Linked DNA regions of Homo sapiens: regions 1, 3 and 4 are each linked to region 2. Evidence: promoter capture Hi-C in human tissues and cell types (Jung and others, 2019). All regions are on one chromosome and are shown on one strand. The core of a region is centred on a gene start or on the middle of the fragment in contact, and the rest is flanking DNA. Distances in the headings are between cores, read along the strand shown. Region 1 overlaps JAK1 (Janus kinase 1). Region 2 holds the start of CACHD1 (cache domain containing 1). Region 3 overlaps RAVER2 (ribonucleoprotein, PTB binding 2). Region 4 has its middle 9.0 kb from the start of RAVER2.

Region 1 (2,777 bases), core at 70-2,569, 370 kb before region 2:
GAGTTTTTTCATTTAATACTGAGAATGCTTTCCTGTGAGATTAAATCATAATTTTTACAAATTTAATGTAAGAGTTAATTGTTTTGTTTAATTTACTTGACTAATTTTATATTTGGCATTTAAGTTTTCAAATTTCCAGTGTTCTGTCTAATTCTGCAGGAAACATCCTTGTACATAAATATTTGTTCATATCTGATTTATTTCTGAGTCATTCAGTCATTGAAGTTAATGCATCAGAGGGTTTGAAGAATCTGAAGATTTTTGTACATGTTGCCCAATTGTATTCCAGAAAGGCTGCATGCCTTTACTTGAATGAAGCTTTTTGGGACTGGGCTATAGTGCCCAGTCTCCTTGAATTTGGACTATTCAGTATTAGGACTGTGATTTCCCCTTGCAAGAATAAGGCAGCAGTAACAAACACTTACGAAATCTACCTGTAAGTGGAGATGTTGAGAATCGAATGAGGAATTGGCAATTCCACCTGACCTGGGGCTGAGAAGTTTGTAGGTGGTTCCTTTGGTTTCTTCCATGTGCCCCTCTTGTTTACAGAAAGAGAGATTCTATGAAAGCCGGTGCAGGCCAGTGACACCATCATGTAAGGAGCTGGCTGACCTCATGACCCGCTGCATGAACTATGACCCCAATCAGAGGCCTTTCTTCCGAGCCATCATGAGAGACATTAATAAGCTTGAAGAGCAGAGTAAGACCTGCCATGTGCTGCTTTAACCCAGCTTGGGGAGAAACAGGAGCCTGGGTGGCAATCCCTGGCAATCGACTGCCTTTCACTCTGTTTTCTTTTCTCTTCTGTTAGATCCAGATATTGTTTCAGAAAAAAAACCAGCAACTGAAGTGGACCCCACACATTTTGAAAAGCGCTTCCTAAAGAGGATCCGTGACTTGGGAGAGGTAAGTTACACCCGTGCTGCTTGCTGCTGATGGCAGAGCCCTCCGCCATCCACAGCGCCACTCTCTGCACGTACAGCTGCTCTCCATTCTTTTTCATTCTGGGGCCAGGTCCATGAGCGAAAGCACCTTACTGCATTTGGGGGCCACTTTCATCACAAGGGATTGTGTCTTTCTCCATGTGACACACGGCACGGACGGAATGCACGTCCCTGCCTGCATGCACGACTGTGTATGCACACGGGACTCTGGGCAGCTCCCTTGAGAGACTTGAGTTTTCTCTACAGGACAGAAGAGAATGGAAAGAGGGAGAGATGGGGGAGTAGGTATAGATATGGTGGAATAGGAAAATCCTTGCCTCTGACTTTCCCGGGCATATATATCCTGTAAGCTTCTCTCTTTTTCTTTTGCCCCCGAGAGACAGGGTCTCGCTCTGTGTCCCAGGCTGGAGTGAGTGGTGTGATCATAGCTCACTGCAGCCTCAACTTCCCAGGCTCAAGCAATCTTCCTGCCTCAGCCTCCTGAGTAGCTGGAACTACAGGCACACGCCCCCATGCTGGCTAATATTTTTTATTTTTTATTGTAGAAATGGGGTCTTGCTATGTTGACTAGGCTGCTCTCAGACTCCTGGCCTCAAGCAAGGAGGCCTCCCAAAGTGCTGGGATTATAGGCATAAGCCACCATACCCAGCCCTGTAAGGCTCTTTAGAGCAGGGATAGGTTTATTGCACAGAATCCCAAAATAGAGTGTCAGCGTTTCTTTGGACCTTAAATGGGAGTTTCCAAACAGTTAATTGTGACTAGAGAAGCTACTGAGATTTGTGTCTTTATACAGATTTTCTGTAGTCTGGTTAATGAAACAGACTTGATACATCTCCAGGATCTGCTGTGTGCCAGCCACTGTGCCAGGCATTGTCAGAAGCATGGCATCCTTAGTTCCCCCCACCGTCCCCGAGGCCAGTTTCTGTATGCAGCGAGTGCATCAGGAGCCAGCTCCGATTTGGGGACTTGGCCACCACTGTCGCTGTCAGGTGGCTTGGCTGGAACCTGATCTCACGTCTTCTAAAGACTCCTCATGCATTTGCTCTTTTCAGCCATGCTGTGGGGCCTGTCCTGTAACGTGAGCCCAGGGCTTTTAGAGAACGGCAGTTGTCCTGCAGGCCCAGAAATAACCTTCATTTCCTGTGGTCATAGAAATTGGGATTGATGAGTTGGTTCATCGTCACCTGCTACTTTGTCTTGGCTCAGTAACTGAGGGGACAGTTTGTGAGGCCAAGAGAGCGAGGGGGCTGTAGTGAGCAAGTACAGTCCAGGTGAGAGGCTTCTGCCTGCAAGGCCAGACAGCGAGAACCCCTGGCCCTCAGGGGAACGGCTGTGAGGAGCAAGACTTCTGTGTGTTCCGTGGCCTACGATGGGGCTTCCCTGATAACAGCACATGCATCTTTCCCTCCAGGGCCACTTTGGGAAGGTTGAGCTCTGCAGGTATGACCCCGAAGGGGACAATACAGGGGAGCAGGTGGCTGTTAAATCTCTGAAGCCTGAGAGTGGAGGTAACCACATAGCTGATCTGAAAAAGGAAATCGAGATCTTAAGGAACCTCTATCATGAGAACATTGTGAAGTACAAAGGAATCTGCACAGAAGACGGTATGTTATGCAAGGCTGGGGTCCGGTTTAAAGATTTGGTGACTGTCTAGGGTCATAAAGGCCAGTGCAAAACAGGCACTCCGTGGCCTTACCTGGGCGTCTGACATGCTAGCTGGTGGTTCCCACACACTCTCAAGGCTTCCAAGTCATATGTCAAATCCCTCAGCAGCTGCAGGGCTCCTGAGGAGGCCACCCAGGCCCCTCCATCCAGGGGCTGGTTCCAGCACTG
Region 2 (2,832 bases), core at 74-2,573:
CCCATTGGTGCGCCTCGGTAGGGAGGACGCGAGGACGCGAGGACGCGGTCAAGGGGGTGGGGTGGGGACTTCGGAAAATCGTCCGAGCCAGACGGGGCTGGCTGCTCTGGGATGGGGACACAAAGGGGGAGTTTGCAGGCGTGGCAGGGTGAAAACAAGCCTACATGGGAAATGTGTGCAAATTAGAGAAGACGTGCGAGGAAACTGGAGAATCCTTGACGAGATGAAGGCGCTGGTACTCAGAAGAGGGGGGCTGTGCAGGGTCAAGTGGGTTCCGTGCAGAGGGCAGGGGATTCTCCAGAGAAGGGCAGGGGTAGACGAATGCATGGAAGAAGAGTTGGTGTATTGTCAGGGGGTCTGTGCAGAGGACAGAGGGGTCCGACGGGAAGCCGGGCTCTATGTATGCAAGGAGCCGATGCACACAGTCCAGGGGACTTGTACCGGGAGTGGGATGGGAGTTTGAGCAAAGGAGAAAGGCGGGATGTCTGGCCAGCTCGGGGGCCACTTACCTGCATGGTGACGACCCCCAGCTCCTCGGCCGCCAGCCTCCGCATCTGGCTCGCCAGCACTTGCGCCTCGTCCAGGATGGAGAAGTCGGCTTCGGCCCCGGCGCCCAGGAGCCAGCACGCGACCAGGCAGAGCAGCCAGAGGGGCGGCCGCCGCGCCCGGGCCACGGCCGTCTCCTCTTCCTCCGGCTGGCGGGCCATGCTGCCTCCCCCCACTCCCCGCCGACGGGCTCCGGGCGCGGGGAAGCGGGCCGCGGGAGGTGCCCCCCGCAAAAGCGCGGCGCACCCCGCAAAAGTTTCTTCCTCTGTTGCAGGCTCTGCTCCGCGCCGCGGTGGCGAAGGCTCCCAAACTTAGGGGGCGCCCGGCTACAGCGCGGGAGCGCGGGCGGCCACCATCGCGGGGCTCCGCGGCGGTGGGGGTAGGAGGCGGCCGCCCGAGCGGTCCCCGGAGCCCGGCGCCCACACGGGCCCCGCGGCGCAGAGGGCGTCTCCGAGAGCAGGGGCGCCCGCAGGCCGGGGTGCGCGGGCCCCGGGGCTGACAGTCGGAATCGGAGTCGGAGTCGGAGCCCGAGCCGAGCCGCGCGGCTCTCGCTTCCTGCGAGTCCCAGCGCAGCGAGCAGGCGGCGGCGAGGACTGACGGCGGCCCCCGGGGAAGAGGAGCGGCGGCCGGGCTGCGAGACTGGGGCAGCCACCCGAGCGAGGAGGGAAAGGGGAGGCTTCACAAACCCACACAACTGAAAGAAAGAAAGCAAGCGGTGGGGAAAGGGAGGCGTCTGGTGCCACCACGCTGCGCTCCGGCTCTGTGCACTTCCCGGCTGGGCCGCCGCGGCGGCTGCGGTGATTTATGGAACCAGCAAGAGAGGCGGGGAAATTCCCCCGGTTGCCCCTCCTCTCTCTCCCTGGCTCCCGCCTCAGAACCTGCCCCCCGGGACGCCGGGGGCCGGGGGACCAGCCTCTCTCTCTGCTCGGGGACCGGCCCAGCCCGGGCAGGGGAGCCCACGGACCTTCCCGTGGCTGGAGACGGAGACCCCCGCCAGCGCTCCCCGCCTCCGTCCGCGCCAGGGAGCCCACCCGGCCCAGGTTCCAGCCATCGAAAAGTCCTTTAAGTTCTAGGACGCTGGCTGTCTGCCTGGCAGCGGTTGGGGAAGAAGGGGACTGCCATGTGTAGGTCCACTCCCTCTCCTTGATGTTATTCATCACAATGGCTAGCTAGCGTTCCACCCACAGATTTCTGTTGCAACCAGCCACCGTGTGCCCGGCACTGGGCTCGGGGGTGTGCACATTATCCTTTAATCTCCGCGACATGCCATAGGAGGTACGTATCTTTATCCCAATTTTTTAGGTAACAAAGACTGAGGCTTAGAGAGGTGGAATAAATTGCCAGAGGTCACCCAGGGGATAAGAAACAAATCCAGAGTTTAAGCACAAGTCTTACTCCAAGGCTATTGCTCCTAAATACGATACAGTTCTCTCTGTCTCTCTTTGGAAATGAACCATCTGATCCCATCAAAAGCAAGAAAAAAGAAAAAGAACGACTGAACCGGAGTCCACCGCGCACACACCTGTTCTCCCAAGCATGGAGAGGCAAGGTTAACCTTCCTGTTTGTCCCTGACTACTGGCTCAGGCTCGCTGAGAAATCACCTGTTGGAAGCACCTGGAACAAGTCAACCTGCTGTGTGTGGAGAACAGCCACTCTCCCTTCCAAGCCCTGTGTGGTTGCTGCTTGCAGGTTCCTGGAGAACAGAGCCAACACTGGAAGGTTAAAGGACTAGTCCAGGGTTACCTAGCAGAGGTGGTAGCAGGATTAGAACCTGGATTTAGGACTCTTTTCATTTTACAGCAAAACCTTCTGTTTTACATCTTTGACTATATTGTATTAAAAAGTCATCTTCTCTTGTAAGCTCTCCCTGGCCCATTTTTACCTCATTGAGATCACTTCTCCATTCTCAACTCCCCTGCTAATTTTTGTATTTTTAGTAGAGACAGGGTTTCGCCATGTTGGCCAGGCTGGTTTCAAACTCCTGACCTCAGGTGATCCACCTGCCTCGGCCTCCCAAAGTGCTGAGATTACAGGCATGAGCCACTGCGCCTAGCCTGTGATGTTTGTTTTACATACTAAGGCAAGCATGTTGAGTGTGGGGACCAATCCCTTCACCTCCACATCATCCACACAAGCACATAGTAGTACTGGAAAAATGATTCTTGAGTTAATAATGAGGTAAAAACCTACCTGTATGTCTTCTATTCCTGGAGTTGAGCTGACATTTGTTAGAAAGATGATCCTTTAACTTCCGTTTTTTAAATTGTTGTACCTTTGACATGACA
Region 3 (2,700 bases), core at 158-2,657, 280 kb before region 2:
GTTTACAAACCTAAAGATAACAGTAGTAAATAAACATAAAATTAAGCTCCAAATACCTAGAAGACAAGTTTAGGGGCTCACAATGAGTTGCACCCCTAAAATCTAACAAAAGAGAAACTTATTTTCTTACTAAGAAATCAGGATACTTATTGTGAAGACATTAAACAGAATGGATAATATTCTTGATTTGTTTTAAAGAAAAACATTCTTTGTATCAATGTTTGACTTTTAATAAATGTTAAGGAGGAAATATTACATTGTAACTTCTTGAAAACCTCTTTAAAAATTTACTTTGTTGAGCATCCACTCTGGGCCAGGCACAGAACCTAAAATGTCAGTTGTGGGCTGCTGAGTGACTAGAGAGCAATAAGCTTTTGCATCAAACATGAAGTCGCATGGTTGATTTGTTTAAAAAGAAAATTATTGAGCCTGATTTATATTCTTGCCCAGATAAAGGATCACTACCCAAACCCTCATGCATAAACGTGGCCTACAGAAGTTTCTGATGAAAACTCTACTGAAGCAACAGCTTTGGATCTGCCCAAATGGTCCCTACTCAGGTAAAGTCCCAAAGACATGACTAAAATTTTGTTGACCTGCAACAGCACTTTTCAACCTAGGGTCTACAATCCCCTAATGAAATCAGGGATAAGCTATAAGAGATCCATACCCCCTTGAAATAATATGCAAATTTTGTGTGCTTATGAATATTAGCACTTTCTTGGAGGGTTTACAGCTTTCAACAGACTCTTAAGCCATAAACAGTTGACTGATTGAATAATTATAAGTGAATGGAGAGAGTTCCCTGCCAAAAAAGCTAACAGAGTGGTACATTGCAAAATTTATTAACAAATCAATCCTGAGAGTGTGCCGGGGGTCAGACGTCTCAATGGAAATATAGCATTTTAGAACAAGGTAGGTGGGTAGTCCGCTTCTTTTACATTTCTCTTCAAACAATGTGTCAGTTTCTAGGTTACAGGTTGAGGATACAAAGGTAAACACAACATGATCCTTGCCCTTTGAAACACTAACAATATAGCTGCATAGAGAGGAATTATAATACAATGGGAGATAAGGATATAAGCTTTGGAATCAAACAGAATTGGTTCTCCACTCTACCACCAATTAGCTGAATGATCTTGGGCAAATTGTTTGACATTAATTTTGCATCTTTGTTTCTCTAGCAATCAAATGGGAATAAGAAATTCCAATCTTATAGTCTTAAAATGAGGATTAAATATAATATTAAACAACTCTAAGTATGGTGCCTGGCAATGGTAGGCCCCCAAAAAACAAAGGTTATTATTATTATAGACATCCAGAGGAAAGAGAAATTTGTTCTGGCTGGGGATTACAGGGAGATCTCAACTAGACTACCATACTCAATTTTGGGTACCATATTTTAAAAGATACAATGACAAAGTGGTAATGATGTGTATTCAGAGAAAAATAAATGAGATGGCGAGGAAACTTGGAATCATGTCCTAAAAACTAGTCATTTGAAGGAATTTAAGTTATAAGTTAAAAATGAGAGGCCGGGCACGGTGGCTCACGCCTGTAATCCCAGCACTTTGGGAGGCCGAGGTGGGCAGATCACAAGGTCAGGAGTTTGAGACCAGCCTGACCAACATGGTGAAACCCTGTCTCTACTAAAAATACAAAAATTAGCCAGGTGTGGTGGCGGGCGCCTGTAATCCCAGCTACTCGGGAGGCTGAGGCATGAGAATCACTTGAAACTGGGAGGCGGAGGTTACAGTTGCAGTGAGCCGAGATCACTCCAGCCTGGGCAACAGAGTGAGACTCCGTTTCCAAAAAAAAAAAAAAAAAAAAAGAATTCTATACATTGCCAGAGGGTAGACGTTGGATCAAGACTTCAAGTGAATACATTGTATATATTACACATAAATAAGACCTTTATAACAAAGAAAGCTGTCTGAAGATGGAATAGGATACCTTATTTGTGGGGATTTCTTTGAAACAAAAATATTTTTTTTAAAAAAAGCCAGACATGGTGGCTTACACCTATAATCCCAACAGTTTGGGAGGCCAAGCAGGGCAGATTGGTTGAGCCTAGGAGTTTGGGACCAGCCTGAGCAACATGGCAAAATCCCCTCTCTAGAAAAAAATTCAAAATATTAGCCAGCATGGTTATATGCATCTGTGGTCCCAGATACTCAGGAGACTGAGGTAGAAGGATTGCTTGAGCGAGGAAGGTCGAGGCTGCAGTGAGGCATGATTGTGCCACTGTACTCCAACCTGTTAATCTGGGATACTATTGGTTGGTAGTAACAAAAGATCCAACTTGAAATAAGTGAAACAATAAAAGGGATTTAGTGGCTTGCATATATATGAAGTCCAGAGGCAGGTTAAGCTTCAGATATAGTTCGATCAGGGCTCCAGCTCAGCTTCTCTACATTTCCCCTCCAAGGTCAGTCCTCCTTTGCATGTCTGCTCCCTTAATGACTGTCAGCTGCAGCCAGAGCCATATGTCTCTGCATTCATATCCAGCAGAGAGAAAGAGATTCACTTACTTTAACAACCAAACACAAGTCCTAAGTTTGTCTGCTAAGCCAGGCTGAAATAATCACTATGACCAAGGGGCTATCATGTATTGATGGGCTTTGGTCCAGGTTATTGCCCGTCTTTAACCAATCCCTCTCGAAAAAGGGAAGAACTGTGTTCTTTGGTTTATGTCACCCC
Region 4 (2,728 bases), core at 229-2,728, 270 kb before region 2:
ATTGCTCCTAGGCTACAAACTTGTACAACATGTTACCATACTGAATACTGTAAGCTATTATAACACAATGGTAAGTATTTGTGTATCTAAACATATTTAAACAAGGAGAAAATACAGCAAATATATGATATAAAGGATAAGAAAATGGCATACCTGTATAGGGCACTCGCCATGCATAGAGCTTGCAAGACTGGAAGCTCTGGGTGAGTGAGTGATGGGAGGTGAGTGAATGTGAAGGCCTAGGACATGACTGTACACTGTAGGCTTTATAACTACTGTATACTTAGGCTACACTAATTTTTTTAATTTTCTTTCTTTGATAATAGACTTAGCTTACTATAACTATTTTACTTTATAAACTTTAAAATTGTTTAACCTTTTTACTCTCTTGTAACACACTTAGCTTAAAACAACACATGGTACAGCTATACAAAAAATATTTCTTTATATCCTTATTCTGTAAGCTTTTTTCTATTTAAAATTTATTTATTTATTCTACTTTTTAAGTGTTTTTAAAAACACAAACACACACAACAGCCTAGGCCTCCTCAGGAGCAGAATTATCAATACCGCTGTCTTCTGCCCACACATCTTGTCCCACTGGAAGATCTTCAGGGCAATAACAGGCGTGGAGCTGTCATCTCCTATGACAGCAATGCCTTCTTCTGGAATACCTCCCGAAGGACCTGCCTGGGGCTCTTCTTGAGGAGTATGTTTATTTACAACAGCATCACCACAAACACATGTGTAATGCATTGTATTATGACTGTAGGACAGCTGGGACATCACTAGGTGGTAGGAATTTTTCAGCTCCATTATAATCTTATGGGACCACCTTCCTACATGTGGTTCATTGTTGACTGAAACGTCATTAAGCAGTGCATGACTATAACTGGATTTGGCCATTAGGAAGCTTCTGGTGCCTTTGAATGAGAGCAACTTCAATAAACAAGCGTGTTTATTGAAGGGGAGAGAATAGGGAGAGTGACCTATTAAAAAAAAGTTCAATAAACTTTAAACATTCTAATTTTCTCCAGAAGCAGAAGGAATCATCCTCTGATAGTGGGGAGATTTTAGCAGGACATTAAAATTTGTTGTCTTCATAGGTGATTTACATATATTTAATTCTCACAAGCACTGTTTGGAGTGGGTATTATTATCCCTGCATTATAAACAAGTCTCCTGACATAATGAAGTTAAGAAAACTGCCTAAAGTCATACAGCCAGTATGAAGCAAATTTAGAACTCAAACCCAGGTCTGTTCCCACATTCTCTGCTTTTCTTACTGCTTTCAGATTTAGAGCCACCAAGGGGAATGTGAAAGTATAGATGTGATGATAGTAGTAGTAGTATAAATATTATTATTTATATATAAGTATATAGTAATAGTAACGATGATGAGGAAGATGAATTGATGGTGGTGCTGATGATAACAGAGGAATTAAATTTCTGCTATTCAAAATTTAACTGCAGTCATGGCCTCATATCTAACTTTATGCCATAAAACACAGTGCCTGTGAGTACTTACAACTAAATGATGTTACTTAATACAAATGACTTTTCTTAGTTTAAATTTAGCCACAGAGTGTCACTCATAGACTTTTCACTTGTCATAATCTAAACATACCTTAAAAATATTTTAAGCCCTTACTCTGATACAGATTTACATTTATTTTTATTTGTACAGTTATGGAAGGTATTATAAAAATTATAAATATGCAAACCACGAACATTTCCCTTGAACCTTGAATTGTATGAAATGACACAAAAAGAATTGTTCTCTTGGACATTAAAGTTTAGTTTCTTTTGGCACTTGCTTTCTGAATTGTGGCAGTCTAAGAGAGTAGTGTACTTTCTATCAGAAATGTAATTTATAAAACTGGCAGAATGGAAGCTATAAAATTATAGAAAAAACCATGGAGCAGGCAGCATGAATGTTTGAAAGGTAATAAAGTACAACCCAGCTATCCAGCAGGGAAATAAGTCTTTTTAAATTATAAAAATTTTGTATAGGATGGAGGGACTTACCATTTAAGCATGTGACATTAAAAACCATTTTGTTGAAACTCTTTTAAAATAACACATATTAAGGTGTACATATTTACCTCCTGAAATAGATGATATTCAACTTGAATTGCCCTTTCGTGATGATTCCAGTAATACAGTGATTGCCCTCTGGGTATACTGAGGATTATAGTGTGATTTTTTCGTATATTAAATGGCTCCATAAAGCTATACCCTCTTTATTCTTGTGTCTGCTTTTTATAGATTTTTTTTGTCTCCTTCCTTATCAATGCACATTTCTCATGGCTGTCCATGTACTCACATGAACTCCTTCATGCTTGTTGTAACATTAAACCAGTCCATACACCCATACACTAAACCCACCCACTACAGCCATGCACATGTAAATAAAGGTAGAATTTGCGCATGCCTTTGCTTATTACCTACAATGGGAGCCCCTTTGCAGGCTCCCATCCCATTTTCCAGCTGGCTTCCTGGCCTTGGCTTAATTTACTGCTCCTGCCGCTTAGACTTGATTGTGTAGGTGTACCCTTCAGATCTCCCTTCTAGAGAACACGCCGTCTGAGTGTAGTTGGCCAGCAGCCTCCAGCTAGTGGCTGTACCTACAGATCTGCAGCATTCATACTCAGGCCTCTCTCCCTTCTAGAGAACACGCCGTCTGAGTGTAGTTGGCCAGCAGCCTCCAGCTAGTGGCTGTACCTAC

What was found. The method cuts DNA at HindIII sites, captures the fragments that hold promoters and counts their contacts. A contact is called where the count stands out against the background at its distance.
Region 1: a fragment that was not itself captured here is called in contact with the fragment with the promoter of CACHD1 in region 2 in 1 of the 25 tissues and cell types used here (bladder).
Region 3: a contact is called between a fragment that was not itself captured here and the fragment with the promoter of CACHD1 in region 2, in 1 of the 25 tissues and cell types used here (bladder).
Region 4: a contact is called between a fragment that was not itself captured here and the fragment with the promoter of CACHD1 in region 2, in 1 of the 25 tissues and cell types used here (aorta).

The regions. Positions count from the first base shown.
Region 1 is chr1:64,839,374-64,842,150 of GRCh38, reverse strand. It overlaps JAK1 (Janus kinase 1), which reads left to right. Exons shown (of 25, transcript NM_002227.4): 18 at 550-700; 19 at 812-906; 20 at 2,356-2,548. Among named protein-coding and RNA genes, the nearest start is that of RAVER2, 96 kb to the right of the region's middle. The HindIII fragment of the contact is 3,854 bases long and covers 1-2,777 here.
Region 2 is chr1:64,468,620-64,471,451 of GRCh38, reverse strand. CACHD1 (cache domain containing 1) reads right to left here and starts at 1,323. Exons shown (of 27, transcript NM_020925.4): 1 at 510-1,323. The coding sequence starts at 707. It overlaps LOC107984966 (a long non-coding RNA gene), which reads left to right and starts at 1,427. Exons shown (of 2, transcript XR_001738100.2): 1 at 1,427-2,266. RefSeq lists a silencer at 994-1,113. The HindIII fragment of the contact is 8,534 bases long and covers 1-2,832 here.
Region 3 is chr1:64,752,655-64,755,354 of GRCh38, reverse strand. The region is part of intron 1 of RAVER2 (ribonucleoprotein, PTB binding 2); the gene reads right to left. Among named protein-coding and RNA genes, the nearest start is that of RAVER2, 8.9 kb to the right of the region's middle. The HindIII fragment of the contact is 3,115 bases long and covers 1-2,700 here.
Region 4 is chr1:64,734,683-64,737,410 of GRCh38, reverse strand. No RefSeq gene overlaps it. Among named protein-coding and RNA genes, the nearest start is that of RAVER2, 9.0 kb to the left of the region's middle. The HindIII fragment of the contact is 4,782 bases long and covers 1-2,728 here.